7 separate regions of the Homo sapiens genome follow, and regions 1, 3, 4, 5, 6 and 7 are each linked to region 2. The links are contacts of gene promoters, found by promoter capture Hi-C in blood cells and fetal thymus (Javierre and others, 2016). All regions are on one chromosome and are shown on one strand. The core of a region is centred on a gene start or on the middle of the fragment in contact, and the rest is flanking DNA. Distances in the headings are between cores, read along the strand shown.

Region 1 (4,215 bases), core at 1,105-3,604, 170 kb after region 2:
AACACCAGAATTGTAAAAATCATCAACTAGGAGTTACATATTTACATTTAACACTTTATTATTTATAAAACCTGTTCTTTGGATAATTAATAAGCTAATCATGTCTTCAATTTGCTTGATTTGTCTCTAATAAGGCAAAGATGAGTTGAAAAGATAAACTATGGAAAGAATATAGGTCGAATATAAAAAAAAACTATTACTTCGATATGAACAATCTTTCTTTCTTACTAGAAGTCTTAGGATATAAGACCAAGCATAAAACTTGAGCCTGTATTTTTAATTCTCTTAAATGCATTAATGAGATTAATTTAATTTTTACTTACTGTGTAGTATCTATATCTGCATCAGGCTTGGTGCTCAACTGTTCCAGACAGTATATAAAAACCTAAGTGAAAACATAAGTTTCAGAACTCTCAGAGGAATGAACTCCTAGACATTAATCTATTTGGACACTAAAGATAACTTTACATAAAGTAGAATTATATATCTCATTAGTGGTGTGGTGTTGTGTGCATGTATGAATATGTGTATATACTGTATATGCCCCATTAATGACAGAAATATATATCCCAGCCATATCTATCACATAAGTAATAGACAATTAGAAGTGCCTATGTTTTGATCAATTATTAAGTTTGTAAAGATATATTCCGGAAAAAGACTTTCTCTTATTCATTCACCCACATTCTCAACTTTATGTGCCTGCAAAGCACTGGTCCCAATAACAATACTTTATACCCTAGATATAATGTGAACAACTAAATATCATTTAATTTACGTTGTGCTCGAACAGAATACATAGAAAGTACCAAGAGAACACAAAAAAGGGGAGCATAACATAAATGAAACATTTGGGTATTGCTAAAACAAGTTGGAATTAATCTTACATTAAACTTTGTTACCCACTTACCTTAAACTATTATGTACACAGACAAGATGAAAAAAGAATACCTATTTGGTGAACGTCATCTGCAGATTATAAATAGGAGAGGGGTTGACTGACACTTAGTATTATTTGAGGCTTTCAGCATTACTGCTTTCTATTATTACCTGCATTATATTGATGCTTAGCTGGCAAACCTCCTCCTGTGTTTTAGGTTGTTGGAAGACCTGTAAGGAAGAATTTTGATGAAAATTTTTGGACTTTGCTAAGAAAAGGTTTTTGTATATGAAGTTAGATATGAACAGTTAAAACGTGGAACGCTGCTGCAGGAGTGGTGCCCTTCCTATAAAAGGAGGCGTGCGAAGAGTGGGCCTACTGGGAGGTGTTCCTTACTGTAGTGACTTGGGCTGGAGAAGACAACGCAGTCCTGGGCTGATGGTCAAGAGCCAGGCCCATCAATAGCTGTCCACAAAGTGCTATCACTGTAACCACTCCACCTACAACACCTGCACTCACACTTTAACTTGCATCGGCCTGGCTTGGAATCGGAAATCAGCACATCTACGCAGTTAAACTAAATGGAACAAGCAGGCGAAGAGGGAGAAAAGATCTTGCAGTACGATGAGTCAAAAATTTACAACTATGATTCCCAAGGCTCCCTGGGAAACTGGAGTCCAAGCGGAGCTGGAATACTTACACTGGCCTCTCCCGGCTTGCACTCCAGAACCCCCTTCAGTGACTGCAGAGAACACACGATGCACTGTTCAAACTGACATGGCTGAAGGGAAAACAGCATATTGTAAAACTCAAAAATGAGCACTGGCTGTGAAGACATGTTTAACACAAGCGAATATGGCCCCAAGCCCCACATTTTCCAGATTAATGGAATGGAACAGACACACGATCTGAAAAGTCATCTCCTAGTCATTGAGTTTCAGAGGTTTGGCATATGTTTTGTACTTCGTATTTTAGAATGAATCAATCTTGAGACTCCAAAGTATATCTAATTCAACTACAATAAAACTCAGATATGACTAAAAATTTTCTTCAAAATTCTACTCTTCTAAGAGGCCAATATACAACGAGGAGCAGATATAATGAGTTTATATTTTGAATGCTAATTCTGAAGGATATTCTGGGATGAGCTGAGTCTCCTAGATCTTCCACATCTCTGGAACTGTTAAACAAAATTTAATGATAATAATAATGACCTAGAGGATGTACAGGATCTTTATATCAGATAGATTGTAAACAGTCATTTTCTATCTACATTAAGTCAGAAAATGAAACCTGAAAATATGCCCAACCAATGGCATTTCAAGACAAGCTAGAATGAATCTTAGCTCCTAAGGGTGTTTAAGTTTTCACTTTGTGCCAGGAACTACTCTAGGTTAAGGAAGATACAGGAATAAGTAAGACAGAATTCTCATTATGTGTATATTTCAGGCAGAAGACACGATCATGAAAGTCAAAGTTGACAAAATGGTTTAAAAAAGTATAGAAATAAAATAATTAAAATAGTAAGTGTCATGAATAAAAGAAGTAGAATTTGGCCGGGCGCAGTGGCTCACGCCTGTAATCCCAGCATTTTGGGAGGCTGCGGTGGGCGGATCACGAGGTCAAGAGATTGAGACCGTCCTGGCCAACATGGTGAAAACCCATCTCTACTAAAAATACAAAAATTAGCCAGGCGTGGTGGCACGCGCCTGTAGTCCCAGCTACTCGGGAGGCTGAGACAGGAGAATCGCTTGAACCTAGGAGGCGGAGGTTGCAGTGAGCCAAGATTGCGCCACTGCACTCCAGCCTGGGTGACAGAGAGAGACTTCATCTCAAAAAAAAAAAAAAAAAAGAAAAGAAGAAGAACTGAGAGAACAATCATGATGGGGGATCGGCTGTAAATAGGATGGTCATAGAAGGCCCCCAAGACTGTGAGAACATTGATGCTGAGACGGGAAGGGGAAGAGGGACCAGCCCTTTGAAGGAACAGGGAAGGAGAGGAGCAAGTTCTCAGAGGACGACAGTGTACCCACCCCGCAGAGTGGGCAAGAAACCACTGGGAAAGCAGGAGCACAGGAAGAGCAGCGTGTCACAACCAACAAACATGAGCACAAGTCTTGAGAGATGGGGTAGGAGGCCAGGCTTCATCCGGAGCAGCGAGACAAGAGCAGCGTGTCAGAACCACCAAACATGAGCACAGGTCTTGAGAGATGGGGTAGGCGGCCGGGCTTCATCCGGAGCAGCGAGACATGGAAGGCTCAAGGCTCAACCAAGCAGTTGTGTGCAAAACACTGGGACTGAGAACCTCTCTTCAACACATGCATTAATTTTTAAAAGAGTTTGGGAAAAAAACTGAAGAGAAGAAAGGAAGTGACATCTATATACATCTTTTAAAAAGACAAGTTTATTTTCTTATGGAAAGGAACCCAGACTTAATGAAAGCTAAAACAGTGCCTCAGCTTTAATGTCATGTTATTTCTGCACTTTGAAACCACCAGAGGGCATTATAAAGAATACTTAAAAGTGAAAGTACAAAAACAGTAATAAAATAAGAAATAGAGGATGAAATACCAACTGCACAGAAAGCATTTAAAGAGGCAAAATGTTTGTTAGGTTACTGACCTTACTCATCTAACCTACCCACCTCAGAAGGTATGAAAATTTAAGATGTTACAATGATAATTATTACTATAATATTGACAATCGAATCTGAAATTCAACCGTGGGCCATTAAATGTTGATGTTTGGCCAGGTGCGATGGCTCACGCTCGTAATCCCGGCACTTTGGGAGGCTGAGGCGGGTGGATTGCTTGAGGTCAGAAGTTCGAGACCAGCCTGGCCAACATGATGAAACCCCATCTCTACTAAAAATACAAAAAATTAGCTGGGTGTGGTGGTGCGTGCCTGTAGTCCTAGGTACTCAGGAGGCTGAGGCAGGAGAATCACTTGAACCAGGGAGGCAGATGTTGCAGTAAGCCGAGATCATGCCACTGCACTCCAGCCTGGGTGACAGGCGAGACTCCGGCTCAAAAAAATTAAAAATTAAAAAAAAAATAAGTAAATGTTGATGTTCATGTGTGGTTGTTTAGATTTCTTCTATTAAAATTTGGACTCAACTTTCTTATTAATTTTATTTTTATACCCACACTAATATAATAAGTAGAAACAGAATACTAGAAAGTTCAATGAGTGCTTTCAGTTGAACCGGGAGTAGGTGATAGTCTACACATTCACTATTTCTTTTTTCTCAAAAGAAATAGTTCTGTCTCTGTGTATTGTCAGTGAGTCATCCAATTTAGATGACTGTCAAAAGTTATCACAAATCATTCCAGTTC
Region 2 (4,182 bases), core at 690-3,189:
ACTAAAAGCAGAGGATGTGGATGAGTGAGGGGAGGGTATGTTGAAAATGACTAAACCCGGTGCAGAGGACACGTATACGAAAGTGCAAAAAGCTCTCATTTGCCATTTTTTGTCCTCAGCAAACTCCTCTCTGGTATGTTTGTGAACGTTTGAGGGAAAGGTAACACTGATTAAAATATAATGCAACAAGAAGGCAACGATCTTTGCTTTGTTCACTGATGTGTTCCAAGTGCCTAGGACGGTTCCTGACAAGTAGCAGGTGCTCAAAATACATTTGTCAAGTGAATAAATCTGTGAAAGGAAAGGAAGAAAAACAGGTTGTGACCAGAACTTTTTGTGAACAAAACCCTGTTGTTTATTACATAGACTTTGGTAATGGAAAACTTACTTGGGTGAAATAAAAAATGGCATCCTGTTAATTTCTGAGAACGTCTGTTGGTTTTAGGAAAAGCATACCTATCCATACCTCACTACCTGTTTTGCTCTAGCCTAAACATAGATTCTTCTTTGGTTAGGAGACATTGACCCAATATATAAGATTAAAACAAAAACTGAGAAATAAGTGAAATCAAAAGCTTTTCAAAAGTTGCAGGTTGACCTACGGTGGTGGTGGTCTAAAATCATATAGAAACCAGAGATCTGATGGTTTACCTGAAAATGCGAAGTAAATGCACATACTCAGCATCTCAGACGATCGAAAGCTCAACGGGTGAAAGCTCAGGGGGTTAATTTTGCGATTAAGGACATCTTGGAAAAGTATGTAAAATCCCTGGTCCACTTAAGTATTATTCCTATTTTGGGCTTTTATTTATTTATTTTGAGATGGAGTCTTGCTCTGTCGCCCACCTCGGCTCACTGCAACTTCAGCCTCCCGGGTTCAAGCGATTCTCGTGGCTCGTCCTCTCAAGTAGCTGGGGCCACGCCCGGCTAATTTTTGTATTTTTAGTAGAGATGGGGTTTCACCGTGTTGGCCAGGCTGGTCTCGAACTCCTGACCTCAGGCGATCCACCGCCTCGGCCTCCCAAAGTGCTGGGATTACAGGCTTGAGCCACAGCGCCTGGCCTATTTTGGGCTTTTATACCCCACTGGTAAACTGCTTTCCTCCAGGTTGAGGTTAAAACGACATCATTTTAAGGTGAACTGAAGTCTGGAAGTGATTAAGCACTTGGATCCTTAGGGAGCCTCTCCCCGCCCCCATCTCTTTCATGCTAAGATAATTAAAACTTCGGGGCCGGGGCATTGTCTGAGTCACTTCAATTCACCAGCCTAATAGATGCAAAAGGATGTAAGCATGTCAGACACGCAGAGACAGTATTTGAATCAAGCTTAATAGCTCAAGGGAGCTGGGCCATTTCCTATTTTCTTTTTAGTGAGTGCGATGTTCTCTAAACACCGCGGAGAGGCAGGGTTCCCGGTGATGGCCTTGCCGAGGGTGCTCCCGCAACCTCCACCTCCAGTTCTCTTTGGACCATTCCTCCGTCTTCCGTTACACGCTCTGCAAAGCGAAGTCCCCTTCGCACCAGATTCCCGCTACTACACGCCCCCCATTTCCCGCCCTGGCCACATCGCTGCAGTTTAGTGATTGACTGGCCTCCTGAGGTCCTGGCGCAAAGGCGAGATTCGCATTTCGCACCTCGCCCTTCGCGGGAAACGGCCCCAGTGACAGTCCCCGAAGCGGCGCGCGCCCGGCTGGAGGTGCGCTCTCCGGGCGCGGCGCGCGGAGGGTCGCCAAGGGCGCGGGAACCCCACCCCGGCCGCGGCAGCCCCCAGCCTTCACGCCGGCCCTGAGGCTCGCCCGCCCGGCCGGCCCCGGCTCTCGGCTTGCAAAGTCCCTCTCCCCAGTCCAACCCCCGGCCCCCACAGGCCTCGGCGCCCCGCCCCGCCCCAGGCCCCGCCCCAGAGAGTTCTATAAAGTTCCTCTTTCCCACCTCGCACTCTCAGTTTCACCGCTCGATCTTGGGACCCACCGCTGCCCTCAGCTCCGAGTCCAGGGCGAGGTAAGGGCTGGAGTCGGGCAGGAGGAGGGGTGTGAGGCTGATACCAGAGAGGACCCGGAGCGCGAACCAGAGGTTCGACCTCCAGGGCAGCGCAGGGTACCCCGGCTTCGGAGCGGGAAGGGAGCGCGCCCCGTCCTGGAGCTCCGACTCCCACCCCATCTGCGCTGAGCCGGAGGCGCTGGTTTGGGCTCCAAGGCCCGCCTCCTTGGCTCTGCCCGAGCCTCCCCGCCTGCCCTCCGCGCTCCTGCGACGGGGTCGCCACAAGCTGGACGGGATGAGCTAACCGGACTGTCGGGGCCCCAGGAGTGGCTGAGGCGGGGCCGTCCAAGGCACCCACACAAGACGGCACAACTGCCTGCGAGAAACAGGCCCGGCCCTGTGGACCCCAATCCGAGGCTCCTTCCCCTGCTCTTCGTTCCTAAGGGGCCCAAGCTCACGGCGGCCTCCGGCGCGGTGCTCACCCGCTGGCGCAGGAGGAGGAGGAGCTCCACATTTGGGTCGCTCCGAGCCTTGCGTGCGGTGGCCTAGCCGGCCTGGCGCGGTCCCTGCCTCCCAGGCTCCGCAGCTGTCGTCGCCCTCTCCCGCGCCCTCCCCGCCTCCGCTCTCCCGGGCCTGCTCCGGGGTCCGGCGGACGCTCTGCGCGCGGAATCCCCCGTACTGGGGCTGCAGCCCCCGCGTCTGCGCCACTTGTCGTTTGCAGAGCCCACTTAGTGCGCGCTAGCTGGGCAGGGATAGGGGTCCTATTCGGGGCGAAGGGTCTGGATGCGAGCAGAGAAAGCGGAGGGTGGAGGAACCCGGGGCTGCGCCCCTGGAACGCCCGGCCGCAGGCGAGGTCCTCCGCGCGTGGAGGCCGCCAGGGGAGTGGAAACTGACAGAGTCGCGGGGAAGGGGCGAGAAGCGGGTTGGGAGTGAGCGAAGGCAAGCGAGAGCTGCGAGTGAGTGCGGAAGGAGGGCCAGGAGGGGTGGCGGCTGGGTGGGGAGAGAGGGTGCAAGACGAGCGGCGCGTGTCGGGAGCCTTTGGGCTGCGGGTGCGTTACAGGAGAGCAGGCGGGTAGGAGCCTTCGCGGGGGCCGAGCTCGGAAGGCGGACGGCTGTGCCCGCCCAGGGGATGCGCCCGGGCCGGCCGCGAAGGTGCCTTCTTCCGGGGGCCCGGACGACCCTGACACGGCACGCGCGCGCTTCGCAGCCTCAAAGACTCCGGGGCCTCGTGGTCACTGGCGCAGGGGATCGGGGCGGGGTGCCCGGAGTGCGGTGCCTCGTGGCTGAAGGGCAGCTCTTCTCCCCGCAGTGCAGAGCAGAGCGGGCGGAGGACCCCGGGCGCGGGCGCGGACGGCACGCGGGGCATGAACCTGGAGGGCGGCGGCCGAGGCGGAGAGTTCGGCATGAGCGCGGTGAGCTGCGGCAACGGGAAGCTCCGCCAGTGGCTGATCGACCAGATCGACAGCGGCAAGTACCCCGGGCTGGTGTGGGAGAACGAGGAGAAGAGCATCTTCCGCATCCCCTGGAAGCACGCGGGCAAGCAGGACTACAACCGCGAGGAGGACGCCGCGCTCTTCAAGGTCTCCGGCCTCGGGAGCCGGCGGGGGCGCGCCGGGGAGGGCCCAGAGACAGAGCCCGGGGTCCCCGGCGCCGCCTCCGAGGCGAGCCCAGGGGACCGCGCGGGGCGGACGGGCGGGCGGCGGAGGCATCAGGTGGCGTCGCCGGAGCCGCAGGAGGAGGAAAGGAGGCCTCGGCTCTCAGCGGGACCGCGGGGGCCGGGAGCCGGGTCCTGGGCGCGTGGAGGCTGCAGGGAAACCGCTGAAGGCCCGGCCGGGCCCGGGGAAGGGCGGCCAAAGGCTTGAGGGGTTTTGCGCGTTCGTCCGTGCGTTCTCGTTTCCACGCAAGCCTCCCGCCCTTCCTCCGGGCTCCCGTCTGCCGCCTCCGTCCGTGGGTCCCCCTCGCCCTCTCCGTGCGTCCGCGCCTGTGCCGGCGGCTGTTTTCGTCTCTCACCGCGTCTCTGTTTCTCTTTTCGCTGCTTTTCTCTCTGAGTCTCTCTCTCTCCATGTTTTTCCTGAGGTCAGCCTCTCTTCTCGCTCCTGCTAGCTCTCTGCGGGTACTCCCACCTCTGTCTTTCTCTTTGTGTGTCTCTGTCTCTCTCTTTCCCCCATCGCAGTGGAACTCAGGGCCTCTGTCTAGAGCTGTCTCC
Region 3 (3,859 bases), core at 1,127-3,626, 220 kb before region 2:
GAGTAGCTGGGACTACAGGTGTGGGCCACAGGACCTGGTTCTTAAATTTTTTTCTTAGTCAAAAAACAGTTAAACATGAGACAAATATCTTCAACTTGGTCAAACATAGTTGAACTATATATTTTTTCCTTATCTGACACAGCTTGTTATTGTTGGATTCATTTTGGGATTCCCAGAAATGGATTCTTACTATGAGTGAAATCACATGGTTGGATTGGAAGCTTTCTATTACAAGCCCAGGGGAGATGGAAATATGCTGTGTGGCTCTGCATTAACTTCTGAATTGGATTAATATAATTGCTTCTGCTGGGCTGCAGCTGCTATTAAAAGACTTGATATCACTGCCACCTTAGTAATCACACAAGTGATGGCAAGGTAGAGACATAAGTGAATTTCATTTTAAAAATGCAAATAGTGCTTGATTTAATAATTTAAAAACTTGTAAAATTGCTCAGCAATAGACACATTCTACAAAAGTTGAAATAAAAGTGCTGTTAAGTCTGATAGCAATAAAGAATGTATTCTTATGTAAGAAAACCACAAAGCTTGGGCCGGGCGAGGTGGCTCACACCTGTAATCCCAGCACTTTGGGAGGCCAAGACAGGAGGATCACGAGGTCAGGAGGTTGAGACCATACTGGCTAACACGGTGAAACCCCGTCTCTACTAAAAATACAAAAAAGTTAGCCGGGCATGGTGGCAGGCACCTGTAGTCCCAGCTACTCCGGAGGCTGCAGCAGGAGAATAGCGTGAACCCAGGAGGCGGAGCTTGCAGTGAGCCAAGATCACTTCACTGCACTCCAGCCTGGGCAACAGAGGGAGACTCCATCTCAAAAAAAAAAAAAAAAAAGAAAGAAAACCACAAAGCTTTTAACATAAAAATGGAAAGAAATATTTTAGTGTTTGATGTTTATTTTGGATTCCATTAAATAATAAACATCCGTATGTGGTTAAGTGCTTGGATGCCCACCGCTTCCCTGTGATTAGGGATGGAAAACTTGAGATAGTGCAAAGAAACTTTAAAAGTGGTATGAACCGCAGCCAAAACTACAATCAATCAGAAAGTAAGCCAAAGTGGCTGAGCGCGGTGGCTCATTCCTGTAATCCCAGCACTTTGGGAGGCTGAAGCAGGGGGATCACGAGGTCAGGAGTTCGCGACCAGCCTGACCAGCATGGTGAAACTTCGTCTCTACTAAAAATACAAAAAATTAGCCGAGCATGGTGGCACACACCTGTAGTCTCAGCTACTTGGGAGGCTGACGCAGGAGAATTGCTTGAATGCAGCAGGCAGAGGTTGCAGTGAGCCGAGATCGCACCACTGTGAGCCGAGGTTGCATCACCACACTCCAGCCTGGGCGACAGAGTGAGACTCTGTCTCAAAAAAAAAAAAAAAAGCTTACCTTTAGTTATTAGGCAATAACATGCAATTTCTAAAACCTAACTTAAATGCAGTTTTTCAATCAATTTAAAATGTGTCAGTTTAGTTACATTTATTGAATCAAGTTAACAAATAAGTATCTCTTGAAAATGAGAGCTCCCAGGACTTATAAAAACCGTAAAGTTCCCATTTGCTTTCTGCATTAGCTAATTATGACCTTCACTTAACAAGCATAAGTCAATTGAACGACTCAGTATTTCACCAAATTAAAAACAAGAAGTATATTAGAAAAACAAAACCCAAAAGGGAAAAGGTAATATAACTAACCTCAGTCAAGCAGTTCATGCTGTTATTCGAAGTCTATGGGCTTGAAGTAGGGATCCTTATGGGTGTTTTGGAATATATTTTCTGTTGTGACCTATACTATTAAGATTTCCAACCCAGGGTGGCTCTGGGTCTGGCCTCATAGGCAGAGTGGTGGGAACAGATTTCATTTGCTCTTTCTCTATATGGAGCTTGCTGCTGACCATTGCTATTATCTCATTTGATCTGTACAGATAGCAAAAAACAAATGCCTAGTATTTTATTTTTCCTTAAATGATTCCTAAATGATTTGCAATTTTTAAAAAATTGCCCTGACAGCAAACAAAATTACCCACTAAACTGTTTTAACACCAAATGTGTGAGAGCATACCTGTTATAAGCAAGTATAATTTTAAAATCGTTCTTAAAAAATCACATATGTTTCTAAGAAGATTTCTAGTGAATAAGTAATTCAAACAAAGTAGGAAGGAGAGAGAAATGGCTATCGATGTACGGCTCAATAGGTAATGCTTGCTACCTTCTAGAAGGCTGTACTTATAAGATTCTGAGGATGCCATTAGAAATACTTGTATTCAGGCTGGGCACAGTGGCTCATATCTGTAATCCCAGCACTTTGGGAGGCTGAGGCGGGCAGATCACCGGGTCAGGAGTTCGAGACCAGCCTGGCCAACATGGTGAGAACCTGCCTCTACTAAAAATACAAAAATTAGCCAGGTGCAGTGGTGGGCGCCTGTAATCCTAGCTACTTGGGAGGCTGAGGCAGAAGAATTGCTTGAACCTGGGAGGCGGAGGTTGCAGTGAGCTGAGATTGCGCCACTGCACGCCAGCCTGGGCAACAAAGCAAGACTCCATCTCGGGAAAATTAAAAAAAAAAAAAGAAATACTTGTATTTAAAGGTAACTATGTGAGATGATATGTTAATTTGCTTGACTATAAGAACAACTTCACTATGAATAAACATATAGTAACGTGTTGTATGCCTTAAATAATATACAATTAAGAAAACTAAAACAAAAACAAAAACAAACAAAAACAGAAGCTAGAAATACTTGTATTTAGAAACCAGTTTCAGGATTTTAGAAATCACTCCTAAATATATTTTCAAACATTTGTTTTCACCACCCTTGTACATTTCACCCATTATCTAGGAAAAAATAAGCATTTCACACTGAGAAATAATTCAGAGCAAGAACTCCTAGGAGAGAACTAGATGGTTGGATTGGTGATCAAAAAGAACTAAAGCATCTCTGAAGGCAATCAGCCCTTAGCATTGTGACCAAGGCACTGGAGGTGGGGCTTGCCCTTTCTGTCTTCCACACACCCCTTCAGGCTGACCAAGGTGTTATTTTTAAACAACTTTGTAAATTACACTTTCTTTCATCCCTAGGATAATCATTCCCTATTTCACAAGCATGTCTTCCTGTAGACTGAAAAAACTATACAGAAAAGTTTGTCTCAAAGCGCCCTCTAGTGATAATACTAAAAATCACAATCAGGAAAGTTAAGTTACTAAATGCCAGGACGTGCCCAGAATAGTAGTAGTTTGGGCACTTTGAGTTTAGATTGTGACCTACTAAAAAACAAATTAAATTCATTAATATTTCCATTTAGAAGAATTCTGAAAAGTAATTTTACAGCAAGATCACTTTATTGACCATAAAGCTTCAAAAATGCTAAAAGACTAATAGACTAGGTTAACTACGTAAGATTTTTCAGGGGAAAAGGCCATACAAAAGTTAAAAAAAAAATGAGGGAAGAGACAGAAACTGTCCTTGACTAACATTTTAAATGTAAGTTTATTTACTAGCATTATTTTCAAAAATTATACTATCAGGATAGCTTTCACTTCCTACTAATCTCATGAAGTTGTCTCACTAAAAATTATGCTTTCATGGCAAATTAATGAACTTGATTGATTTTCTACAAGTGTATGTTTTGACTTATTTCTTTAAATTTTTTGACATGGATTTGTTAGCTTTTAATGTTATTGCAAAGACTTCCTTATATTCTTCTAATTCCGTAGTAAGCTCTTCATAAGCGGTTTTCATTTTGGAGAATTGACATTCCACGTCTTTCAGTCAGAGTTCTCTTTTATTCATCAAAGCCATATTATTCTCTTTTAACTGCTGTGTTTTTCATATTCTGCTTGTTTCTAAAA
Region 4 (3,794 bases), core at 1,052-3,551, 150 kb before region 2:
AACAGATCTTAATGATCACTGGCGACATTGAAATCCAAGAACACAGGAGCTGTTGAAGCCTGAGACCAAATCTGGGAAGGGAGAATTGAAAAGGACAAGAAAATCGTCCCACAAAGGATTTGAACACACACGGAAGTGGCATGTTAAAACGATATGTGCACCATGAAGAATCTTGAAGAGAAAATTGTAGTTGGGAAGTTTCTTAGTAAGGGGAGAGGGAGTTCTTACTATATACATTATATTAACATATTAACGTTAATCAATATTAATTTCTGGAAGAATATACTTCACTAAAATGAAAAAAGGTTTGATGTTGAAGAAATTGAGACACAAAAGAGAATCCATTTATTTAACTTGGGGAGTTAGTTTCACTTTGGTTTATTTATGATATTTCAATATGCTGACTTTAATTTTTTTGGATACGCTATATTAGTACATATTTGTGGGGTACATGCACAGAATGTGTGATGATCTAGTCAAGATATTGATCATTTCCACGTGTTGGGTACACATCAAGTCCTCTCTTGTAGCTATTCTGAAATACATAATACATTGTGTTAACTATAGCCACACTGCTCTGTTATCAAACATTAGAACTTATTAAATGGAAAGATACCCAGCACTTGGGGAAGCCGAGGCAGGCGGATCATTTGAGATTGGGAGTTCAAGACCAGCCTGGCCAACATGGTGAAACCCCATCTCTACTAAAAATACAAAAAAATTAGCCTGGCGTAGTGGTGTGCACCTATAGTCCCGGCTACTTGGGAGGCTGAGGCAGGAGAATTGCTTGAACCCAGGAGGCGGAGGTTGCAGTGAGCTGAGATCGTGTCACTGGGAGACAGAGTTAGACTCTGTCTCAAAAAAAAAGAAAAGAAAAGACACAAAGGCACACTCTTATTTTATGAATAAATGTCTCCTCAGTCAGAGGCAGATGCTTGTCCATACGCTGCAGTTACCACTGTGAGTGGCAGTGAAGACGCACCAGAGGCACAGCCCTGTTAGTCATTCTAGGGCTGGTTTTTGTCCATCCCTAAGACTGCAGTTCATTAGATGAAGTTGAAATAGCTCCTTACTGTGGAACTACGAAGAGAAGTAACCGCCTCACTCGGCTTGCTGGTCTAGTGCTGGAGAACGAGGTTATAGGTGTATCTTTGACCACTGTGGGACGTGGGCCCTCATCTTCCAGAGGGACAAAAATTACAAGATCTCAGAGTTGCCTCGGGATTGTTGAAAGATCAAAATCAGACAATGGGCCAGTGCAGGGTATTGTTATCACTGGGTGTCAGGAGCTGATGGCTACCAGAATTTAAATGAAGGGCCTTCAGAATGAACGCTGTTGACAATGCCATCGATCGTTTCCCTCCTTCTGAGTCCACCCTTGACGAGGGCCACAGCCTGGCTTCTGTCATAGAACTCCCATGGTACTTTCCATGAAGTTAAGAAAGTCATTGTACACCTCCCAGCACTTTTATTTCTGCTGAATAAAATCTCCCTCTCCTGGCCTTGGAAACTGCTACAGCTCACTAACCCTCTATCCTCAGAAACAGCCCTTCCAGCAACGCTGGCGGGCACCTGCCCATATCCTCAGGGAATTCCACTGGACTTTCCCAGTTCCTCCCTGGCCTCACGCCATTTTCACTGCATTCGTGTTTAGCACGTGCTTTATTCTCTCCCAGTTACACAGAGTTTCATGGAAAATCTCATGACAGTTTTTGGAATTGGGTTGATTGATAGGGCCATCCTTGGGAGAAGACGTGGTTGGCAATTGGTAAATTGGGGCAAACGTCGAACTCATTTAAATATTTTTTAACCTGTTGCTGTCTTTCACATTTTTCTCCTGAGAATCATATAACCTTAGAGCTGGAATGATCCACTCTCTCATTTTATGATGAGAAAACGGAAGCTTAGAGAAATGAATTGGCCTGGACTGAAGGATTAAACAACTAGTTAGTGTGGGAGCCAAGGCAGGAATCTAAGTCTCCTCCTCTCCAGTCAAGAACTTCTGGCCTCCAACATCCTCTTGAGCTCACATCTCAGAAGAGTGACATAATGTCCTCTCCCTGGGACCTCTATGTAGCCTCCACGTGGTCTAGGCTCTTGAGGTGCTCGGCTGGTACCCTTGCCCAGAGCAGAGAGTGAGGCAGACTGAGCCAGGGAGCAGGCAGGTGCTGGGGAGCCAAGGAGCCTCAGCGGGATGCCTTCCCAACTTACCACTGTTGTCATTCCAGAGCCCAGCTCACTTTGTCATTTTAAAGGCCATTTGTTAAACTCCCTTAGTCAATCCCATAGCCCCATTTTTCTTGTTTCCCTGTGGCACTTGACTAGGAGTTAAAAAATAGTAACATTAAAGACAGACCAACTATTCCTATTCTTGGACCAAGTTCCAGGAGCTGTGTTTTCCAGAGCAGGGAATCAAGGAAAATCAATATGACCTGAGTAGAGTAGACGAGCAGTTTCCCACTCCTGGAAACCTGGGGCTGGTACCAGGTCCAGGGCATGCGCTCCAGAATAGGCAGGCGGAACCTCTGAGATGCAGCCGAGGTACCATCGCTCCTGTGGGCAACTTCCTCTATAAAAAATATTTAAAAGTATTTTACTGCTGCGCTGATAAAATGACAGATGTAATTGAGATGGGATTCATTATTATATATTCATGATTATTATGTATATTTTTCTTCTGATTTTAAAAGGAATAAAGATTAAGCTTTTTTTTTTTTTTTTCTTTTTTGGGACGGAGTTTCGCTCTTGTTGCCCAGGCTGGAGTGCAGTGGTGCGATCTCAGCTCACTGCAACCTCTGCCTCCCAGGTTCAAGCGATTCTCCTGCCTCAGCCTCCTGAGTAGCTGGGATTACAAGCGTGTACCACCGCGCCCGGCTAATTTTGTATTTTTAATAGAGTCGGGGTTTCTCCATGTTGGTCAGGCTGGTCTCTAACTCCCGACCTCAGGTGATCCGCCCGCCTTGGCCTCTCAAAGTGCTGAGATTTACAGGCTTGAGCCACTGCACCCGGCCAAGATTAAGCATTTCTGAGGCTTCCGAATGCAGCCTGGGTCCCAGGCACCCTGTGCTTCCTGTGCCAGAGGGCAAAGTCGGCTTGCATCAGAACCAGATGAGCTGCGGGCACATCCTGCCTCTTCGTGGCATCCTGAGTTCCCAGAACCTCTGTTTCCTTCTCTCTAGAATAAGGATTGCCCAGGGCTACTGTGAGGATGGGCAGAGATCACATATATAAAAGAGAGCATCCTCTCATCCCTCCCTCACCTCCCACCTTTTCATGGGAGACTAGTCTGCAGCATTTCTTGTCTGCACAAACTCTTGGATTTGTTGCTTCTGAAATTGGAGACAAGCCACGGGTTAAGGGCACAGTCATTAGCAAGATCAGTTTTCCTCCTTCTCAGCTAACTTTTCTCTCTCTGCACAGCACTCCCTCTGCTCTGGTCGACATGTGCACAGCTGCACTGAAACTTCTCTCTGGTGACCGCCACTCCCTCCAAATAGCCTCACAGTGCCCCCACTGTTGCACACACTCAAGCTACCGCCCAGCTAGAATAATCCACCTTGGGCATCTTTTAAAAAATGCTCTAAAGGAAAGTGCTATCTCATCCCTGAGCAATGGAGGAGGAATATATGTTTCAATTAATAGTAAAACGACCAAGACTGATGCATCCTATAGTATCTGGGACCTGCTTTACTCACTTGTCATGAAAAATTGTGAAGGATTTTGAAACGTGAAAGAAAATGTGAGTGATGCCTATAAATCTATATATCTACAGTTGACCCTTGAACAACATGGAT
Region 5 (4,313 bases), core at 379-2,878, 190 kb after region 2:
ATTCATTTATATTAATAAAACCTTCGAAAAATTCCCTACTGCAATGCTTGTTAAGAATAATATAAGACATTTTAAAACAACTGTACAGGTATCTGAATTTAATACAATGTAAGGTATTTCTATTAGTCTATTTGGGTTTCTTATATCTGTTATTGAGATCACAAATGGCTCCTGACTAGTGGCATCTAATTTGGTGCAAGAATGCCTGATAGTCGATCATGTTGTATCTCAAATAGGAAAATGGTAAATATCCACTCCAGAAAGTTCAGAAATGCAACATACTTAAAATTTTAGATGCTTCATCTTAGGAAAAATTATTAGCAAGTATTTTATGGTTAATTAACAGCCAATCCCTCTTTCCAGACCAAAGTTTAAATTTCATCAAAAAAGGTATACTGATACTACTTTTATCGCAAATTCCATCTTAATGAAGTTCTCACAGAATTTTTTTCTGTGGCACTTTAAAAAAATTCAACCACAGAAAAAGTAAAACTAGACTTGAACTAAATATGTTTAATAAGCACTGACCTGCACCCAATGACTTAAAAATCAAATAGCATTCCTTTAAATGTAATATATATTTTAATTATTAAATTACTGGTAGTTACTGTAACAAGCAAAAGCGATGATGGCTGATAATACTTAGCACCAGTATCAACACAAATTGGGGAATTTTCCAAGAGAAGAATGTTTGAAATTACACGAGTACAAATTTAAAAGACCCAGTGGCAGTGGAGGGAGATACTTACTGTCGTCTCGACCAGACTGAAAGCTGCTGCCCCTCTTCAGGGACGCTGTCTGACTGAGATGGCCCAACACTGAGGGACGTGTATCATTATCAAGATCCAACATGGGACTGTGCAGGCCTGGGTTACCTGGGGAAGAAAGGAGAGATATACAGAGTATATAGCATGCTCTATATACTCTTGCTTAGTTGATTTAATGGTCTGCTTCTCTGAGGCTATTTCTTGCTCAATTGCTCCACTCTTAAATAAGGCATTTATTAAATAAAATAAAAAGTATTTTCTCTAAACAGATTTTAAAAGTCATTCTCAGTTCAGCAAAATTGGGTGGTGGTGGGAGGATAATGCTATAAACACAAAAAGTAGCAGGAAAAATCACATTTTGCAAAACAACTTTTGGCACTAGGAAAGATAATGGAGTTCAGAATCTTCTGTTTCTTTAAATGTAGCTGACTTACACATTTTTGTAGCATAAATCTCCTCTGACTTCTCCCTTAATGCCACACTTTACACTTAAATCCCCAAATCCCACCATTTGTTTCTTGGACACATGGGATTTCACTCCCTATGGCGTTTCTTGATGCCAGTCATCTAGTGTGGATCCTTTTCACCTCACACTTCATATGCCAGAAGCCAGAACATTCTACTACCATCAAGAAATTGTCTTTATTGTCTCACACTCAAATACTGCTTTTTTGATTCTCATCTGAGAAGTCTTCCAGAAAACCGGCAGGATAAAGTCTACCCCGATGTTTTCCAATCCAAATTATGCTGAGAATTAGGAAACAATTTTTCTAAAATGGATCACAAAAGCCTTTAGGAATAGAATTCCATGTTGCCAAGCATGTTAGTAAGGACATTGGCTTGAAGAGGTAAAATTTACCTTGTTAGTCTAAAACACCACTCTTTAGCTGAGTATTCAAAGAGCTTCAAAATAAACTGAATTCAAAGTGCATTTACAGAGTATTTACAGTACTGTGCATAGGACACTTGAATATTCTCCCTACAAAAATACACCTTACATTTTGCTGCCTTATTTGCTATCCTCTCTACTGGAAAGGCCTCACTCAGTTTTTCTTCTTCATCCATTTAAACCCACATCCTGAAAGATGCCACTTGAAATACAGCTATTACACAAGGTCACCTCTTCCTCTTATCTACCTAAAGTGCTACCTATCTTTTCTGCCCTCTGACAGCAGTGAGAATGTATATAATTTATGTATATAATTTAATCGACTTCACATTCTAGAGTCTGTAGTTCATTAACAGCTAGGTATTGCCTATCTCCACCAAAGACTGCTGTTTTCTCAGGGATAAGAAGTAAATATATCTCCATGTTCCCCACAGTCATTGGACCTTCCACAAATAACTCCCACCACATGTAGTAAGTGACTGACACTAAAAAATATATTTTTTACTTTATAACTTAATAGAATATTAAAAGCCTATGGAGTTGTTTTCAGGTGCTAATATAAAACATATTTCCAAATTAAAGTAACATTTTGGTGTCTCTGATAATGCAAACTATTCAATAACATTTAACAGGTATTTATTGAGCTCCCTCCCGCATGTGAGGAATTGCAGGCCCGGGGGATAAAGTGATGAATAATATCTAAGGCCCTGCTCTCAAGATGTTTACATTCTGGTGGTGGAGGCAGAAAATAAACCAATAGATAAATAAACAACAAAACTATAGCAAAAAAACGCTAAGCAGAGGAGGTAAATAGTGATTGTGTGGTAAGAAAAGGCTTGATCTGACTGAGGCCCTCCTACCGTGTGCCCCTGGACGTGACACACTATCATCTCTCTCTCCAGATCCCCACAAATTCTAGCTGGTAGGTCTTAGATAAATAGAAAATAAATCATTTGAACAGATTTTTTAGTGCAACAGAAGTTTTTTTGAAGACTTACTATGTTTTGGCCACTGTGCTAAATAAATGCTGTGCATACATTTGTATTTTTGAAAATATTAAAGCTAAGATAAGAAGACTTATAAAATCCACTGTGTTACCAAAAAAATGTGACAGAGAAAAAAAATACAGTGAAGAAAGTATTTTTTTCTAATTGACTTTTTTTCATATAAAAATGTTTGTGTGGATGTTCTAGTGATTTATGACATTTTCCTTTGAAGTTTATACAGTTGTCACTTCTATCAATTGTGGAATTCAGGAAATGAATATCAAAATATGAATTTTCTAACATACTTTAAAGAGAAAAATAAAGGGGCCCAAACTTAGCGTCACATTAAAAATACATATAAAAACTTCTAATTTATATTAAAATGTACATTTTTAAAGTATAAAAAAGAATGCTTTAAACTGTTACATTTCACTTACTCTTGAAGGTTTTTAGGACTATGAATTTATGATTAAGAAGGAAAACACTTCCTAGTTTCCTGAAAATACGCATATACCATTCCTGCAAAAATACAATTATTTCAGAAAAAGTTTTCTCCTTATAACTGGTATTTTTATAACTTTAAATTGTTTAATATTAAACCATTTGTATAGTTTAAGTACATCCTGAGTTTTGTAATGGTTAAAAGATTGATTTTTTTTCCTTTAATAACAGAAACTGTATTACTATGCTTTTGTTCTATTAGAAACCACATCATCAGTTTTCTATATCAGGAAAACAAAGGTAACCGTGAACAAATTTTCCAATTGGTACCCTGGCATTACCAGAAGTATAACACAGCAGCAGGGAGCTAGAAGAGCACATGCCCCTCCGGACTATCAGCATCTGGAATACATTCGGAAGATGTATTTTTGCTGAGTGTCCAGAAGGTAGCGCTTCACAGCTGCACACAAATGCATAATGTGCCCTGTCAACTAAACAGTGGGTACTAGCTTAGAAATGTATTTCTCTCCCTAACACTCGTACTTTTCTTACTGTCAAAAAATAATCTCAGAATGAGTTATTTTATAGAGAATTAGAAAGCTTATGTTTTGAAGAGAAAAGCAACACAAACTTTTTAAATACCAGTTGTCACAAATTATGTATGACCAAGTGTCAAAAAAAAAACAAACAACTTGATAATTCTGACACTCCTTTTAAATTACATAACTTACTATTTCTGACTCACAAAATTATTACAAATATGAACTGGTTTCATGAGTAAGCATTTCTATAAAAAAAAGAAAAAAACAGTTTCCATAAAATATAAAATCAGCAAAAGTCTTTAAATATTTCACATATCAGTCTATTTTGTTTCATCTTACAATATGACAGCAATATCTCATTTAAAAAACTATACACATTACATAAAGCATATGGTGGCCGGGTGCAGTTTTTTTTGTTTTTTTTTTTGAGATGAAGTGTCACTCTGTTGCCCAAGCTGGAGCCCAGTGGCACAATCTTGGCTCACTGCAACCTCCAACTCCTGGGTTCAAGCGATTCTCTTGCCTCAGCCTCTCAAGTAGCTGAGACTACAGGCATGCACCACCATGCCCAGCTAATTTTTGTATTTTTAGTAGAGACAGGGTTTCACTATGTTGGCCAGGCTGGTCTTGAACTCCTGACCTTGTGATCTGCCTGCGTCAGCCTCCCCAGGTGCTGGGATTACAGGAG
Region 6 (3,761 bases), core at 1,131-3,630, 150 kb after region 2:
ATGTCAGGAGTACACAGCTCATACTTTTTGTTGTAAGGATTTAAACAGATAATTCAGGAAACTTGCATAGCACACTGAAAGCAAATACATAATAAATGCTAGCAGCTATTTCTATTAACTCAACAGCCTCATTTTCACTAACACCCTGTTCACACTGGCTGCTGAACATAGAAAACTGGGTCTGCTTGATTCCTGCTCAAAAAGCAAGGGTCAGATCCATCTACCATTAATCGCTATCTGAGAGTGAGGAAGAAAGATTAACTTTAAAAACATCCTGACACTAAGGAAATCAGTCTTATAAAGTGATGTGTTTAAGGAATGCAGTGGTTAAACAGAGACGGAGCGCTAAAGGGTCACTGATGGGGGTGAGAAAGGCAGCAGAGTAGACATGCCTGAGGGTCCAGTGGCCTTTTAGGGCAGGTGTCTCTAACAAAAACACAGTGCCTCCTTTAAAAAAGATAACAATTTAATTGTGTACAGACAGTCCCAACTTATGAGAGTTCAACTCATGATTTTCCCACTTTACCAGGGTGTAAAAGCAATGCGCATTCAGTATGTTCCCTGGCTTATGATGTGCTACGTCAGGTTAAACCCACTGTAAGTAGAAAATATCTGGCCGGGCACAGTGGCTCACGCCTATAATCCTAGCACGCTGGGAGGCTGAGGCGGGTGGATCACGGGGTCAGGAGTTCAAGACCAGCCTGGCCAAGATGGTGAAACCCTGTCTCTACTAAAAATACGAAAATTAGCCGGCTGTGGTGACAGGTGCCTGTAATCCCAGCTACTAGGGAGGTTGAGGCAGGAATTGCTTGAACCCGGGAGGCGGAGGTTGCAGTGAGCCAAGATCACACCACTGCACTACAGCCTGGGTGACAGAGCAAGACTCTGTCTGAAGAAAAAAAAAAAAAAGAAAATATCATAAGTAGAAAATGCGCTTACGATATTTTCAATTTTGGAAGGGTTTATCTGGAGGTAGCCCCATCATAAGTTCAGGAATATCTGTATTCAGAAATAGACTTACTCACTGAATTCGTACATATTAGCACTGAGGAGGGTCTTTCGAAGCATTAAAAAACTGTGGGTAATAACTTACAGAAGTAAAAGGCGTATGCTGGAGGCAGAATTCTGGTGTAATGGACAATACTCCCAATAAGCCAGCGCCCTGCCACCTTAGCAGCAATCATGTATATACTCAACAACATTTCCATCTCACGCACCGGCACTGATGCCAGCCAGTGCTCCCAATAAGCCACCGCCCTGCCTTTCTTAGCAGCAATCACGTACACTCAACAACATTTCCATCTCACGCACCAGGCACTGATGCCAGCCAGTGCTCCCAATGGACAGTCCTGGAGAAGAGATGCCTAAGTCGATTGTCAAATTTCTCTAACTTCTTTACTGTTGTCTTCAACACAGTCACAATGGTTTAAAAGATAACATCATTATTTTGATGTATTTTAATGTTTCCAATTTAAAATTTCCAATTTGTGATTTTAAAAACTTTTTGATAATAATGTTTTTTAAAAATTATGCTTCCAAGAAAGAAAATAAACAACAAACAATTATTTTCATTCCAATTTGGCCATCTGTATAGAAATAAGGTCATCAAACTATCATTAGAACATCTATCCAAGTGACTCTGGATAACTAGGTTCAGACAAATTAATTTTTTTTAGCTCTTTTCAAATGGATGGCAGGACAGGTGGCAAACTGACATTCCTTTATATTACTGAACCACAACTTGTCAAATGGGGGCAAAATAAATGCCAAGTAAATAACTAATTTTAAAAAACCTCTTAATTCCTAGGAGAAGTATTAACACAAAAAAGAAAACTACAGATGAAACAGGATATACTGTCACCTGAAACAGAAGGACAGCCTGTGTCTCCAGGACTTGTTAGCGAGGGCTTCCAAGCCACACATGCGCACACCATGCCCAGCTAATTTTTTTATTTTTAGTAGAGATGGGGTTTCACCATGTTGGCCAGGCTCGTCTTGAACTCCTCACCTTAGGTGATCCACCCACCTCAGCCTCCCAGAGTGCAGGGATTACAGGCAGGAGCCACCACACCCAGCCAGGAATTTTTAATAATCAAGTTAGTCACCTCACATCCTATATATTAGGCTTCAATTGTTTGCTCCACTGTTCTCAATAGGATAATCTTATCCTTGACGATTTGATTTTCTATCTATACAGAATAATCGGAAAGACACTGGAAAGAACTTTACTGCTACCACTATCTCCTTCCCTGATTTCTGAATTATACCATTCCAGAGTAAGTTAATAATTTCCCCTTACTTAGTAACAAAAAACAAAGTTTCTGGAGAAGAAACACAACTGAAATAACATTTCAATACACAGTAAATTTCAGCAAGATTAGACACAACTGAAGAAACAAGGAACAAAAAGAGAGAGCTGAGGAGATTACCCCAATCAGTACAGACAATTAAAGATGAGGAGAATAAAAAAGAAAAAAATTAAGAGATGTGAAGAATAGAGTGAGAAGGTCTAACATACACCCAATAGGAGATCTTAAAGGACAGAAAAGTTTGAATGGAGAAGAAAAAATATTTGAAGAGATAATGGCTTAGAACTTTCCAGAATTGATTAAAGACATCAACCAGAGCCAAGGGAACAAACAGGCCAAAAAACATAATAATACCAAGACACATAATAAAAATACAGAACAGAAGAGGCAAATAAAGTATCTAAAAAGGAGCCAAGGAAAAACCTTACTACATTTTTCTCAGTAATCAAGAGATCAAAGTCCAAACCAAACAAACAAAAGGACTGAACAACATAATCCACAAACCCGATGTAATAGACATCTGTGGAATGTGGTATCCAAAACGTAAGGACACGATCTTTTCAACCGAGGTAGGGTTTCAGAAAACTGTCCACATATGAGCTTACAAAGCAAGCCTCAGCAAACCTAAAAACATGATATTCTCTGACCTCAGAACAATGATGTTAGAAATCTCTAACAAAGAGAAAACTAATTCCAACTGCTCCTCTGCTCCCTTAGCTTGGAAATTTAAAATCATACTTCTAGCCAAGACTAAAATAGAATATTAAAATTCAAAACTAAAAAAAATGAAGAATAACTAAAATACCACTTGCGAAAACATGGGAAACACAGCTAAAAAGACACTTAGAGGGAAATTCACAGCCTTAAATGTTCATATTAAAAGACAGAAAGGTTTAGAATTAATGAACTATGTAAATAAACAAGATTAGAGTCCAAATTACTGCAAGAGAAAGCAAGGATATAACGAGAGAGCACTACTAAAGTCAAAAGTTATTCTCTGAAAAAGACTCTGGCAAGAAACAAAGAATAAAAATACAAACAAGCGATAGTAAGTACAAAAAATGACCATATCGCAGCTGAGGTTGAAGGAATAAAAATACAAACAAGCGATAGTAAGTACAAATAAGGACCACATCGCAGCTGAGGTTGAAGTAATAAAACTGTTATAAAACAATTTTACGCCAACAGATTTGAAAATTTAAGCAAAATGGGCAAAGTCCTAGAAAAATATAGATGACTACGATTAACATGAAGAAATAAAAAGCTGGATGGTTCTATAACCATTAAAGAAATTGGGCCAGTCATTAGCAATCATCTCACAAAGAAAATCTGGGCATACGGAAAATACCACTACCAGAGCGTTTTTCTAAATATTCAAAGAATAAATAATTCCAATCTTATGCAAACTCTTTCAAAGAAGAAAAAGGAATATATTCTTTAATTCATGTTACA
Region 7 (3,948 bases), core at 926-3,425, 170 kb before region 2:
TTGCATGCTGGAGGGAGGAGCTGCAAAGGGCCTGGAGAGGCCACGGCTTCTCCTTGGCAGGGTGGGCCCAAAATTTGGTACTGATCTGTTGGCTTCAGATATAGTTAATGTGTGACATCAACACTTAGCATTGAAGGGGCTTAATATCCCCACCGTAGCACCCAGTTATATCCCAGCAGGTTTAATCTGCAAGAAATGACCAGACTGGAAGAAACAGGGCAGCCCATCATAGAACACCAGCGCTGGAGGCACCTTGGAGAGGTAGTTGGTCCTACCCACCTCATTTTGCAGGTGGAGACTGAGCCCCAGAGACGTGAAGCAACATGCCTAGGGTCACACAGCAACAGCACACAGTAGGACCAGGCCAAATTCTCTTGCTCCATCACTTTGGGAACAGTGCAGCACAGCACCAGCAGGAAGTGAGGAGCTCCTGTGTGGACCCCGAGCAGCCCTGCAGATATGGTTATCTCCAGAGTCACGGCCCTCACAACCCTCTCCCCAGCTTCTGAGTCTGTCCCTTCTTAGCCTGGAGTAGTGAGATGGATGCACCGGCATCTTTGACAGCCACGGTTGTTCCGATTCATGTCCCCCCGCCTGCACCCCCGCTCGCTTCCCGCTTCCCGCTTCTGTCCTGCCCACACAGAATGGGGAACTGGAGCCGGGGCCAGGGGCTGAGCCGCTGTGTGAGCCCGAGTGATGAGTCAGCGTTCATTGAGCAAACGGAGAGAGGCAGAATGAATGAGTAAATGGTCTGTATTTTCTTTGCTACAATTTAATGTCCTAATATATAAAAGTGTGTGAGATTTTAAAAATATGAACACCAGAAAAAATTATCTCACATATCTGCACTTCTCTAATCATATATAATCTTTTCATGAATTTGGGTTGCATTTTATATCCTTAAATATTATATTGTACATTGATTCATATAGGTCCTGTATTTTTGTTACAGTTATTCCTAAGTATTTTCCCCAATTTTTTTAAATATTTCAAACTCACAAAAAAGATAAAAGAATAGTACAAAGAACCGCTGTTTGACCTTCACTGTAGATTGATGAATTATTAACATTGGCCGTATTTGCACTCTCTCTGCCCCTCTCTCTTTGTTTTAGAAACCACTTGAAAGTAAGTTGCACAGGCCATATTTAAAAATTTCTGGATGTTTCCTAACAACAAGGACATTCTCCTACAAAACCACAATATTATAATCACACCCAGGAACTTTAACGTAAGTTTTAAAATATAGTTTAAAACGGCTTTAATATATAGTTTAAAATAGTTTTAAATATAGTTTGATTCAGAGCAGAATGTGTTGAAGTTTAAAATACAGTTTGATTCAGAGCAGAATGTGTTGAGAGAAACTGAATGCACGTAGCTCAGTTCCAGTTGCTGAAGAAATTCAGCCTTCCCCTTCTCTAGCCTGCTTGACTTGAATCAGCAGTCTTGAGTTTGCATTATTGCAAGTCCTAGGCTCTGCCGTCCCCCAGCCCCTCACCTCGGTGCTCTGCAAATGCTGAATTTCTACGCTGTAGGCACCTAGACCCTTAAGAAACAAGCCCAAGCCAAGCTACCTGCTTTCTCGTCTCTGAGGCCAGCCTCTGGCCTCCCCAGGCAATGTCATGACATTAGACTAACTTTGGAGAAGTCTGGGAACTGAAGGGAAGCGAGACAATTCTTGTCACTCTGAAAAATATATATAGCTTATTATATTTCACGGAAGCCTTTTGTTTTGAACTCAAACGCAAAGCAGACAGTGGTGCAGGCATATTTTACACATGAGTGCTGTGCACGGATCTGCTCTATCTCCCCTCCCCGTGTGCCATTTCTAACTTCATGGGTGCGAGTCATGCTCCTTGTTTCCTGTAAGTGACCCCACGAGCTCCACTTAGCTCGTTGTGTGAAACTACAGCTGAGCAGTAAGGAGAGGAGGAGTGATACCACAAGAAGAGAAAAAGCAGCTTGCCCAGACGGCTGACCATGAAAATGGCCACGAACATGAAACAAGGACCGTTCATTAAGAAAAAGAGACTAGCAACTTTAAAAAAATTAAACAAAGTTGCCAAAGACATGAAGAAGTCATATGTCGCCACCTCTAGATTACTGCTATTCAAAGATTACTCCTGTCTGTGAACTTCCATAAAAAGACAGCCATGGTGAATTCAGAAACCACAATACCCTGCCTTTAAGAATTGGGGTGCTCAAATGGGATTAAGGTGCATTTGAGAGTGGACCCTGCAGTCAACAGAGAGCTTTGATGTTTGTGGTATCAAAGTCCTCAATTTCAGTTATTTAAATGCAAAGAGTGGCATCTGGGGAGAGAACACAGTTTCTGATAAGAAACCTATTGGTTTTTTTCCGAAACTGGTAAAATTGTAAAGGGTTTGTAATTCCCAGAGCCGAAAGAGGTATATTCTACGAAAGGAAGTGAAGTTTGTGGTTCTGTATTTATAAGATGACTAACAATAACAAGAAAAAATGAATGGACTGCACATGCACTTTGACAATGCGAAACTTCTATTCTGGCTTGTTAATAATTGTTTTTCTTTGTCTCAAAAGAAAAAAATGCAAGTGAGATAAAAGAAAAACTTCAGCCAAATTAAATGAAAGGGACTTTAATTGATCAATGAACGATTCATGAATCAGCCAGCCTTCTGAGCCAGAGTAGGCTCAGAGACTCCAGCGCAGCCACATGGAGGAAGATTTATGGATAGAAAAAGGAAAGTGACGTATAGAAAATGGAAGTGAGGTGCAGAAACAGCTGGATGGGGTACAGCTCGGCGTTTGTGGTATTTGAACATCGTTTGCGTTATTTGAACATGATTCAAACAGTTGGCTGCGTTTTATTGGCCCAAACTGAGTGATTGGCGCAAGAGCAGTATACAGTTCATTTACACCTCCGCTTGTTATAGTTCATGATATACCGAAAAACCTTCAGGCTAAACTTAAAATATGTAAGGAGGCAGCTTAGTCTAAACCTGATTTAACAACTGTAAAGATGGACGGTTGGAATCAGCACAAACTACTGCAAAGTATATTTTATAATGGCCAGAAAGAAAGCATTCCATTTTTCAGTAGAGAATCAAAGTTTTAAGAGCTTTTAAACCTAATGGATCTGTGGAGAGTAAAAATCTAGGTAGCTGCATTATCACAATGATTAAATGGACATTGGCTGCAGGAAGAGTGTGTTTGTGAGATTCTCTTTGCGCGTGTGAACAATCAATATCTTTTTCCTTTTGCTGACAGTGGAAAATATCATAATGATACATCCAATTACATACTTTTCTATCTCTTACTCTTTAATGTATTTGCCTGAAATCACATGTTTGGCTTTCCACATCCGCATGTGGGTCTGGGAGTAGAAATTCTGAGACGGCTTCACATAAGGAGGCTTCTTCCCTCCCACCCTCTCACGGACAAATCAATCAAATATCTGCAGCTTGACAACTTTAGCTCTAAAAGGGGGCACTTTTTTATCTTGTACCTTTTCTTATAAATTTTGGGATATAATTTATTTTTGGTAAAAAAAAAACTTCAGAAAGTGGTTTAGTTGAAAGCACCTTAGGCTTTCTTATTAAGAATTAAGCTGCCCATGCTATTCATACTTGTAGTTTAATTCCTCACTTATTGTTGTAATTGCAATTGGATTTTGCAACAACAGCAACAAAAGCCTCCCTGGCAAGTTCCTGGTGATTCTGGGGAAGAGGGCTTGAGCCTGAGCTGCTCTAACCTCTCCTTCAGTCCTCAGCTCCCTGCGGTCTCTCTATAGAGATATGAGACACCCCATTCCCAGTACAAGCCACTTTTCCAGCTTCACACACACGCCCTCTTGGATATGCTCCCTGTGACGGGCAACCGTTCTACTGGAAGTAATTCTGAAAAAAGCCTCTGAACCCATGAGGCCCACGTGGGGCTTACCTGGCATTCAACTGTGTTCTCCTACATGTCACC

Evidence for each region. The method cuts DNA at HindIII sites, captures the fragments that hold promoters and counts their contacts. A CHiCAGO score of 5 or more calls a contact.
Region 1: a fragment that was not itself captured here is called in contact with the fragment with the promoter of IRF4 in region 2 in 8 of 17 cell types (activated CD4 T cells, naive CD4 T cells, non-activated CD4 T cells and 5 more); the score reaches 30.7 in activated CD4 T cells.
Region 3: a fragment that was not itself captured here is called in contact with the fragment with the promoter of IRF4 in region 2 in 11 of 17 cell types (activated CD4 T cells, total B cells, naive B cells and 8 more); the score reaches 14.1 in activated CD4 T cells.
Region 4: a contact is called between a fragment that was not itself captured here and the fragment with the promoter of IRF4 in region 2, in 6 of 17 cell types (total B cells, naive B cells, activated CD4 T cells and 3 more). The highest score is 12.6, in total B cells.
Region 5: a fragment that was not itself captured here is called in contact with the fragment with the promoter of IRF4 in region 2 in 1 of 17 cell types (activated CD4 T cells); the score reaches 8.7 in activated CD4 T cells.
Region 6: a fragment that was not itself captured here is called in contact with the fragment with the promoter of IRF4 in region 2 in 5 of 17 cell types (activated CD4 T cells, naive CD4 T cells, non-activated CD4 T cells and 2 more); the score reaches 16.1 in activated CD4 T cells.
Region 7: a fragment that was not itself captured here is called in contact with the fragment with the promoter of IRF4 in region 2 in 10 of 17 cell types (total B cells, naive B cells, activated CD4 T cells and 7 more); the score reaches 20.1 in total B cells.

The regions. Positions count from the first base shown.
Region 1 is chr6:554,904-559,118 of GRCh38, forward strand. EXOC2 (exocyst complex component 2) reads right to left here. Exons shown (of 28, transcript NM_018303.6): 18 at 1,581-1,661; 19 at 1,051-1,110; 20 at 324-385. Among named protein-coding and RNA genes, the nearest start is that of HUS1B, 100 kb to the right of the region's middle. RefSeq lists a silencer at 2,372-2,559. The HindIII fragment of the contact is 4,828 bases long and covers 1-4,215 here.
Region 2 is chr6:389,813-393,994 of GRCh38, forward strand. It overlaps IRF4 (interferon regulatory factor 4), which reads left to right and starts at 1,940. Exons shown (of 9, transcript NM_002460.4): 1 at 1,940-1,997; 2 at 3,286-3,556. The coding sequence starts at 3,341. RefSeq lists silencers at 1,627-2,016, 2,257-2,326, 2,607-2,656, 2,827-2,876, 2,987-3,096 and 3 more and an enhancer at 4,157-4,182. The HindIII fragment of the contact is 5,232 bases long and covers 1,324-4,182 here.
Region 3 is chr6:165,901-169,759 of GRCh38, forward strand. It overlaps the pseudogene ANKRD18FP. Among named protein-coding and RNA genes, the nearest start is that of LIRIL2R, 13 kb to the right of the region's middle. The HindIII fragment of the contact is 1,969 bases long and covers 1,393-3,361 here.
Region 4 is chr6:238,197-241,990 of GRCh38, forward strand. No RefSeq gene overlaps it. Among named protein-coding and RNA genes, the nearest start is that of LINC03066, 35 kb to the left of the region's middle. The HindIII fragment of the contact is 801 bases long and covers 1,902-2,702 here.
Region 5 is chr6:576,008-580,320 of GRCh38, forward strand. It overlaps EXOC2 (exocyst complex component 2), which reads right to left. Exons shown (of 28, transcript NM_018303.6): 12 at 750-875. Among named protein-coding and RNA genes, the nearest start is that of HUS1B, 79 kb to the right of the region's middle. The HindIII fragment of the contact is 4,106 bases long and covers 1-3,681 here.
Region 6 is chr6:538,178-541,938 of GRCh38, forward strand. All of the region lies in intron 22 of EXOC2 (exocyst complex component 2), which reads right to left. Among named protein-coding and RNA genes, the nearest start is that of HUS1B, 120 kb to the right of the region's middle. The HindIII fragment of the contact is 5,087 bases long and covers 1-3,761 here.
Region 7 is chr6:219,431-223,378 of GRCh38, forward strand. No RefSeq gene overlaps it. Among named protein-coding and RNA genes, the nearest start is that of LINC03066, 16 kb to the left of the region's middle. RefSeq lists an enhancer at 1,370-1,449. The HindIII fragment of the contact is 6,117 bases long and covers 1-3,948 here.